2 separate regions of the Homo sapiens genome follow, and region 1 is linked to region 2. The links are contacts of gene promoters, found by promoter capture Hi-C in human tissues and cell types (Jung and others, 2019). All regions are on one chromosome and are shown on one strand. Each heading gives the region's core, a stretch centred on a gene start or on the middle of the fragment in contact. The rest is flanking DNA. Distances are from core to core; before and after follow the strand shown.

The links. Contacts are between HindIII fragments. The study calls those that stand out against the background at their distance.
Region 1: a contact is called between a fragment that was not itself captured here and the fragment with the promoter of DCST2 in region 2, in 3 of the 25 tissues and cell types used here (dorsolateral prefrontal cortex, lymphoblastoid cells and spleen).

What each region holds. Positions count from the first base shown.
Region 1 is chr1:154,478,898-154,483,448 of GRCh38, reverse strand. SHE (Src homology 2 domain containing E) reads left to right here. Exons shown (of 6, transcript NM_001010846.3): 6 at 1-3,968. Among named protein-coding and RNA genes, the nearest start is that of TDRD10, 21 kb to the left of the region's middle. The HindIII fragment of the contact is 4,086 bases long and covers 574-4,551 here.
Region 2 is chr1:155,031,660-155,036,522 of GRCh38, reverse strand. DCST2 (DC-STAMP domain containing 2) reads left to right here and starts at 2,742. Exons shown (of 15, transcript NM_144622.3): 1 at 2,742-3,089; 2 at 3,259-3,429; 3 at 3,755-3,856; 4 at 4,752-4,863. The coding sequence starts at 2,822. DCST1 (DC-STAMP domain containing 1) reads right to left here and starts at 2,699. Exons shown (of 17, transcript NM_152494.4): 1 at 2,669-2,699; 2 at 2,426-2,551; 3 at 1,963-2,088; 4 at 1,796-1,870. The coding sequence starts at 2,486. The HindIII fragment of the contact is 8,066 bases long and covers 147-4,863 here.

The DNA of each region.
Region 1 (4,551 bases), core at 1,367-3,866, 550 kb after region 2:
CATGATGGTGCAGACTGGAAGAGGATGTTATATTGGACTCGTTATTGGGGAAATGAATGAGCGGGAGAAAATGTGAATGACGGGCAAGAAGGTGGTCTTTCTCCCTCAGAAGTCCTAATTCAGCTCTGGAGTTCATGGAAATCCGCAACTTCAGAGTGTGGCCTAAGGATTATTTTGTTGGTCAGCCTTTCCAAGAAAGTGTGTGTTCTCTCAATCTCTGTGGATTTTCTCATTTTTTAGCAAATCAGTGAGATAAGCATAAATAGGAAGGAAGATACCCCAGGTTTAAGAATCACCAATATCATTAGGCATTGGCATCATTATTAGAATTCTGAATTATAGAATAAAAGGTACAACAAAAATTTCATTTCTGAATTTTAAAATTCTGGAAATTTGCAAAGCTCCACAACTGTTTTTTTACTGAATTAATTACATAGAACTTCGATGTCTTTTGTTTCATCATCATTGGGCATTTTAGTTGCTATGGAATAATTTTTAATTTTTGTCTCTAAAATTAGATTTGCTTTGTAGTAAATTTTTTAAAAATGCAACCCTAAGATCTGATTATATGAACTGGGTCTCTAAAGCCTACAAAGATTCTCTCGTTCTGTACCAAGCAGACTGCCTTGTACTATACAGAAGTGTTTGAAAAGACCTAGAGGTTTTCTCTTAAATACCATTACTTAAGATTCATAGTATTAGGATCTTTATGATTTATCATGAGCTTATATCACCAGTTTATTTACTGTGAAAAAAACCATGGGAATGGCATACTGTGAGAAGAGTACTATGGTGAATGGCTCCAGAATTAAAATTCAGCAGATGTGTCTGTATTCTGGGGTTGGTCATTTGGGTCTCAAAACTGCCCCATATGCAAATGTACTGACTGTCATCAATGAAAAGTTAACCTTTGTAGCTTATAAATACACACAAAATGTTGATTTGGTTAATTTTTTAGGAAAGTATACCTTTGTAGTTACTAGTTACATTTGACTGTAAGATTTAGAGGTTAGTAAATTTTTGCTTCTTTATTCAGATAAGATCTCAGCCAAAAGGTTGTGTGATCTTTGATTTTAAAAATTTAAGAGGAACTTTTCCTCACTGGAACACAATGATTTTATTAATAAAGAATGTAGGCTGGGTGCGGTGGCTCATGCACGTAATCCCAACAATTTGGGAGGCTGAGGCAGGCAGATCACGTGAGGTCAGGAGTTTGAGACCAGCCTGGCCAACATGGTGAAACCCTGTCTGTAGTAAAAATACAAAAATTAGCTGGGCACGGTGGCGGGCACCTGTAGTTCCAGCTGCTTGGGAGGCTGAGGCACGAGAATCACTTGAGCCCAGGAGGTGGAGGTTGCAGTGAGCCAAGATTATGTCACTGCACTCCATCCTGGGTGACAAGAGCGAAACTCCATCTCAAAAAAAAAAAAAAAAAAAAGCCTGGCCTGGTGGTGGATGCCTGTGGTTCCAGCTATTCGGGAGGCTGAGGTAGGTGGATCACCTCTGCTCAGGTCAAGGCTGCAGCGAGCCATGATCGCACCATTGCACTCCAGCCTGAGTGACAGAGTGAGACCCTGTCTCAACAAGCAAGCAAACAAAAAACCAAAAGGAATGTTTTTTTCAGATACTGATAGAATGTTTTCAGTGTGTATTGGTTCATTTACTATATCTTTAGTGTAAGATTTTAAAAGGTTTTTTCAGCATCCATTCAACAAATATTTATTATCTTTATACAAATTATTCATTGTGTTAAACTTATTTTTAGTTTAACATTCTAGAAATGAAACGTTTTTACTTAACCTTATTCTACAAAGGGAATACAGCAGTTATTCTAATTTTAATAAATGCTAAAAGCTTTATACAATTTTTCTTTGTGCACTAAATGATTTTTGGCCCATACCCAGCAACTGTGATGAATGTATAATGAAATAACATCTTGAAAACAGGCCAGATACATTAAGTATTTATTGAGCTTCTGTCATATGCCCAGTATTATGCTTCTTCTATACTGTTTCTCTGTGACAAGTCATACTATATTCTTTATAGAATTAAAAGTAGAGGAGAGGCAGAGTTTACATATTGTCCAGTTGCTTTACAGTTGTACAGGAGGTTATAAGAAGAAATATAGTAAATTAGTGGGAAGTCAGAGGTGGGGGCGTTAGTGAGCTATTTTCTTCTTGAGGTTGTGACACAAGCTGACAAAAGCCAGGGAGTTCACAGCTGTGTGGTGGCACAAAGTTCCATATGTTCTAAAAACAATTAGGCCCAGCAGGGTGTCCCTAATGGCTTCCTTGTTAAACCTCCATGGCCAGCTGATCTGAAGCTCTGTGACATGTTCTCTGAGCTCTGAATGCTCTGGCTTTTTGTCATTTTGTCTTGAGACAAGTATTTTCCTGTAGTCCTCATTCCTTCGAGTTATTCCATCTCCCAGGATATTCTCTGGTGAGAAGAATGTCTTTCAGTGAATTTGCCTTGAATTTAGCATCCATAGAGCTGTGTCAGTGTTCTTCTTGATCACACCTTCTTTAAAAAAAATACTTGCTTGCGATGACTGGACAAGTTCAGTTGGTTAGTTTCAGGCCTATAAGAAGAGAGAGTAAAGGACCTTGCTATTTACTTTGATACCATAGTTGTATCTCAGGATGGCCTGCAAACCACTGGCCTTGTGTGTATTTAAGCTAGGAATAAAATAATGGAGAAGTGTTAATATGTATACAAAAAGGTAAATATTGATATATCTACTCTCTGTTGGGGGCAGAAGTGTCATTTTAAGTTATTCAAAGCACTTTCTTAAGCATTTTAGAAAGCCTTTATTCTTTGCTGTTGGAAGTCTCCGTACTTTGCAGAATTGGTATTTGTGTACTAGCCTCTGCCGCAGGATGGGGAGGTGGGCAGGTAGCTGATAGGGGCAGCCAGGAGTTTTTGAGGCAGGTGGTGGGAAATTGTCCTAATTTGTTAATTGGATTATGTAACTCTGTTACTAGTCTGTTATTGGCTGTTGTTACTGGATGCATCTTGATATTCAGAAGAATAACTGTGAGGCATTCTTCAGTTGCGGGTTAAGTGGGGTTAGTTTCTGTTCTGTCAGATGCCCTTTTTCAGTCAAAGGTTAGCCCCTTGTTTCTCCCTCCTTCCAGGGTTTAGGGAGTGCAGTGATGTCGATTTCATTTCCCTTCCCCGCACCCCTTGACACTCAGCAGGATTGCACTGAAACCCTTCACAGATCTCTCGTTCACTAGTTGTCTCCTATTTTTCCATAACTAGCACTAGTTTGGCCTTATGACCTGGTTAGAATCACTCTTCTGTATTCTCATTTCCAATTTTTGTGCCCCACTAACGTGGACTAGAGAAACTTGGCCTGCTGTGCAGTGGGCCTTCTGTTCAACTTACCCTCCACCGCTGACCCTGTGTGAAGAGAGATGGTGCGTTACTGCCATCTAATGGGAAAAGAGAAAACTGCAGTTGGGAAAAGCAGCTGTGCATTTAAGGGTAGGGCTTTCTGAAGGATTTCTGATACAGTCCAGAAAAGGGAAAATGATGACACAGCAGTTGCCATCTTGAAAAATGCCCTTTCCTGCGGAAAGGGTGTTTTGAAGTCTAATACAACTATCATCACAAGGTCCCTGGACTAAGGCTGGATCGTGTAATTTAGAATCTCAAATTGTATTTTAATTAATATGCTGGCAACAGAATCATTGAAACAGGCGTCTCATTTTGTCAAGTTCTTAGCCGTTCAGTTTGTCAGGGGCTTTAATATTTTAGATATCAACTAATACATAGTTTCAACTTTTAAAAATGTTTGAAGATTGTATGTAATATAGGTGTCTATCTATAGTGCCTTAGTAATTTAAATCAGAAATATTTTATAAAACTTCTGGTTGTTTTGCAGTAGCCAATATAGGCTTCATGCCCTCCTGAAGATAGTTTCCTCTGAAATGTAACTTTAAATAAACATTATTCCAAGAAAACTACAGTGGTTTTGCTTAATTCAGTTAGCTCTGAGAATCATCTTCCTTCAGAAAAATACTTCCCATGGTAAGAGCTACAGCAGAGTTTCATTTGCAGTCACCATTAATGAAATATAGAAACACCATGATGGAACATAACCAGCAGATTCTATCTTTTATTTACTCTGTTCACATTTAGAGTCCTTCTATTATGTTTTTCTTCCCAAGTAAAATAGTAATACAGTGATGTTTTACTGCCATTTCCTGGCCCATCTCTTCCTGAGTCGAAAGTTAGTGCACTGGTTCTCATCCCTCACTAGATAGAAGATTTGGGCTCTGCTTCTGTTTTTATCAGTTTGTTATTAATACAAATGTCCCATGCCATCTGTGGGATGCCCTAAGTCTGTTGCAAAGTTCAAAAACCTATTTTAAAAAAAAATTGTACCAGGTGATTTGGATACACAGCCAATGGTGGAGAAGCCCTGTTGGAAGCTCCTATTTGGAAATGCACAAATAAATTCACGTCAGGTCCTAGAAGGGCATACTGTTGAGTCTGCTATCAAAAAGTTTTCCCCTCCAAAATTCCTAACATGGTTTCAAGTTT
Region 2 (4,863 bases), core at 1,493-3,992:
GGAGCAGGCCTGAGCTGGGGGCGCAAGGGATGGGGAGGGCAAGATAAGGAGGGAAGATGCTTGAGAATGGATGAGGTTAAAAGTCTGATGTAGAGTGGACTGGACCTCTTTAACCCCTAAAAATAAGTCTTAATTGTTGAAGTAGGACTAGGTCTTCTAAAGAAATACAACCAGAAATCTAAGGGGCTGTGTGAAAGGTTATCAATGGGAAAAAACATGTTTGAATACAGTGGGTCAGAGAAAAAGTAGTCTCCTGTTGGTATCCAGCAGGATTAATTCAATAAACAGGTGATGAAATGCTAATTCTATTTCCCTTGCCTGGGACAGGTTCAGGAAAGGGCATGTGTTGCACGCAGTTCTGACCAAAGAGATGTGAGGAAGTCTACTGTGGGGATTATAGGCAAGTTTCCCTTGTTCCTAAAAAGAGACATGAGGAAAGGATGTTTCTTCCTTTTTTTTTTTTTTTTTTTTTTTTGAGACAGAGTTTCACTCTGTCACCTAGGTCATTTTCCTTTTTCCCTGGCCTCAAATCGCACAGCCCAAGACAGTGAAGTTGGGCCTGGGATTGAACTTCTATTCTTTTCTTTTTTTTGAGATGGCCTTTCGCTCTTGTCACCCAGGCTGGAGTGCAGTGGCACGATCTCCACTCACTGCAATCTCTGCCTCCTGGGTTCAAGCAAGCCTCCTGCCTCAGCCTCCCAAGAAGCTGGGACTACAGGTGTGCACCACCACATCCGGCTAATTTTTGTATTTTTAGTGGAGACAGGGTTTCACCATGTTGGCCAGGCTGGTCTCAAACTCCTGACCTCAGGTGATCCACCCGCCTCAGCCTCCCAAAGTGCTGGGATTACAGGCGTGAGCCATTGTGCCTGGCCTGTTTCTTCCTCTTTTTTTATTTTTTTCTGATCTTTGATATTATTGTATGAAGATGTGATGCCAGAGTTGCTGCAGCTATCTTGTGACCTGAAGAGAAGTGGTCAATAGACTGAAGATGGCAGAGAAAAGACAGAAGGAACCTGAGTCCTTCTCGAAGCTACTGAGCTGTTAAATTATCCAAACTGGGCTGGGCACGGTGGCTTACACCTGTAATCCCAGAACTTTGGGAGGCCGAGGCAGGTAGATCTTTTGAGGTCAGAAGTTCGAGACCTGCCTGGCCAACATACAGAAACCCCGTCTCTACTAAAAATACAAAAATTAGCTGGGCATGGTGATGGGTGCCTGTAATCCCAGCTACTTGGGAGGCTGAGCAGGAGAATGGCTTGAACCTGGGAGGTGGAGGTTGCAGTGAGCTGAGATTGAGCCACTGCACTCCAGCCTGGGCAACAGAGCGAGACTCCGTCTCAAAACGAAAACAAAAACATACAAACAAAACCAAAGCAAAACGGCTGGATGCTTGTCATCCTTGTTTACTGCTAAATCCTCAGCAGATTCTCAGTAAGTGCTGAGTGAATGAATGAATGAATGAATGAATTTAATTTCTTAGGAGGATCAGAAAACGAGGTCAGACAGGTCAGGAGAGATGAGAGTTATGAAGGGTTATGGGGTTGGACTATATCATGTGGGTGATGGGGAGTCCCTCGGAATGGAGAGACTCCCTCAGGGCAAGGACGGTGTCTTCCTTCTTAAATTGGCAGCCTCTTCCCTCTGGACCTCCCCGTAAAGCCCAGGAGGAGGCGGAAGCCACAGGGGATGTATGGGTACAGAAGAAACAAGTCCCGACTCCTTCCTGGGCATGCAGGACGGCGCTGTGTTCCACAGGCCGCTTGAGTGTTCCTGGCTTTTGCCCAGCACTAACCCACCAAGCTGTACAAGAACATAATCTTCTGTTCTTCGTAGATGTTCATGGGGTTCACCAGGAGCTGAAAGAGACCTAAGGGCACAAGGTCAAGCCAAAGGCCAAAAGATGGGTCCTAGCCCTGGTCCAGCCTCTGCCCACCCCGAACTTTCTGCTTCCACACTCACCTATGGCCAGGAGCCCCCCAGCGCCTGCCCCCAGCAGGAGAGCAGTGACAGGAAACTCGCCCGGCTGGCGCCACAGGAACCAGCTACAGGAGACTGGCAGCCCCCAGGTCAGGAGCCTCTGCACCGCTAAGAGGGGGACAGGGTAGCTCAACAGCCCACTCTTCTGCCTGGGATGGGGCTCATTAGGATTCAGGGCTTGCAGGTGGATAGAGGCTGGGGAAACCTGGCATGTGAAACAGTAGGAACTTAGGGGACCCTGGAGGAGGATGAGGGAGCCTGAGGAAGTGGTATGGGTGTAAGGGACAGCAAAGGCAAGGGCTGGGCTGGGAGGCGGGAGGCACTAGACCAGAGAGGTGGTGGAGGCGCGGACACCGAGTTGGGGGATAGTGTGCAGGAGTTCCAGGAGGAGAGATGGGATGAGAGTGGAGGTCAAGGGATACTGGGTCTCTGCTGAGTGACTCACTGGTATGAGGCTGTTTTCTTCTTTGCCCTCTTGTGCCATTCTGATGATGTTTAATGTCCATGAGTCTGTTTTGGGGAAGCACCACTCATCCCAGGTCTCCTGAAGGACCTCCTTGGACACAAGGTTCTGGTGAGAGAAGAGAGGTGCTGCCTGTCTCTTCCGCTTCATGGGAAGCCTAGGCCTGAGCTCTGGGCCTTTTAATCCTTCTGCTCCGAGAAGTGGGGAAGGAGATTAGAGACCTACCTATCCCCTCTCCAGTCCTCGGAACTGGGTCAAGGATTCCAAGACATATGCAGTGAAAGCCCTTTGGAACCTTAGAATACGGTGAGAAATTCCAGGAGCACAGAAGTCAGCGGGCATCTCCTGGAGACAGGCAGACATTTGGTCTCAGCAGCCATGCCCAAAGTCATGAAGGATGTTGTGCACCCCTTGGGGGGAGAGGAGCCTAGCATGGCGAGAGCTGTGGTTCGCAGCGTGGGAGGTTTTACCCTGGGCTTGTCTTTAGCCACGGCCTACGGGCTTCTGGAGCTACTGGTGGAAGGCCACAGCCCCTGGGGTTGCCTGGTGGGCACCCTCACTTTGGCTGCCTTCCTTAGCCTGGGCATGGGATTCTCTCGCCAGGTCCGAGCCACTGTCCTCCTGCTGCTGCCTCAGGCCTTCTCCAGTGAGCTTGGCACCCAGGGCTAGGGGGCAGGTCCTGGGGCTGGTGCTGGGGCAGAAGAGATGCTGGAGGAGAGGCAGGGGTTAAGGGAAATATTCTGAAGGCTTATGTAAGGGACTTGCTGCCATGTTTGGGGCTGGGGTCTTGGTTCTAACAAAGCTGTCGCCCCCAGGGCAGGGCCGGACACTACTGTTGGTGGCTGCTTTTGGGTTGGTGCTTCAAGGGCCTTGTGCCAACACTCTACGCAACTTCACCCGGGCCAGCGAGGCTGTAGCCTGTGGGGCAGAGCTGGCCCTGAACCAGACCGCCGAAGTGCTACAGAGGGCCAAGCAACCTCTTGTCAGTAAGTCCCCCACCTCTACCACTGTCTCCCACGGGCCCCCCTCGCCCCCCTCATCCTGCATGTTCTACAGTCCTTTGGCCTCCTTCTCTGCTGGTGCTAATCGCGGAGCATCTGGGCCTGGAAGGGACTCTGGGCACAGCTAAACCCTCTCTCCTTGCTCTCTGGCCTCCTCCACTCCCAGATTAACGATCTCCCAGGCCCCAGAATCCAGGCTTCCCGCCTCTGGAAATGGTGGCCTCCTCTCTACTCCCTGCTTAAGGGGCAATGGTGAGAACCAGCCCCTAGAGGAGAAGACTCCAAAGTGCCTCTGTCCCTCACCCATCAGGTGCCCTGAACAAGATTAAAGCTATTGCCCGGAAGACCAAAGAGGTGGCTGACCGGGTCCGCAAGTTCTTTCGGTCAATCATGGATGGTGTGAAACACATAGGTAAGCACATTAGCATGTCTATCCCGGGGACTCAAAATGCACCCAGTCCTGGCCGGGTGCGGTGGCTCATGCCTGTAATCCCAGCACTTTGCGAGGCCGAGGTGGGAGAATCACTTGAGCCCAGGAGTTTGAGACCAGCCTTGGCAACATGGCGAGACCCTGTCTCTATAAAAAATAAAAAAATAGAAAATAAATAAAACTAGCCAGATGTAATGACACATGTCTGTAGTCCCAGCTACTGGGGAGGCTATGGTGGAAGGATCTCTTGAACCCAGGGGTTTGAGGCTGCAGTGAGCTATGATCGTGCCACTGTACTCCAATCCAGCCTGGGTGACAGTGTGAGACTCCATCTCTAAAGAAAAAAAAAAGCGGGGGGGCCAGGTGCGGTGGCTCACACCTGTAATCCCAGCACTTTGGGAGGCTGAGGCGGTGGATCAGGAGGTCAGGAGATCAAGACCATCCTGGCTGACATCGTGAAACCCCGTCTCTACTAAAAATACAAAAAGTTAGCCGGGCGTGGTGGCACGCAGCTGTAGTCCCAGCTACTCAGGAGGCTGAGGCAGGAGAATCTCTTGAACCCAGGAGGCGGAGGTTGCAATGAGCCGAGATCACTCCACTGCACTCTAGCCTGGGCAACAAGAGCGAAACTCCATCTCAAAACAAAACAAAACAAAACAAACAAACAGAAACAAAAAAATTCAGTCTCCTCACCTGTACCCTGTCCAGGGTTTTTTGGGCCCCTTCTGGGCGCTGGCTAGTGTTCACTGGACACAGCACAGCCAGGTCCCTGACCACAGGCCTCTCCAGCCCTGGATACTGTGGTATTGTTCCCCAAAACCCTGAGAAGAGGCTGTAGGATTCCAGCCCTGGGTGCCAACCCTGCAGCTGTCCCCAGCCAGGGCTCTCCGGAATGTGTGGCAGTGGCTCCTGCACATCGGCGATGTGTGCAACTCGGAACTGGGCAACCCTTACCTGAAGTGTGCACGGGTTTTCGATGATGCCAAGGA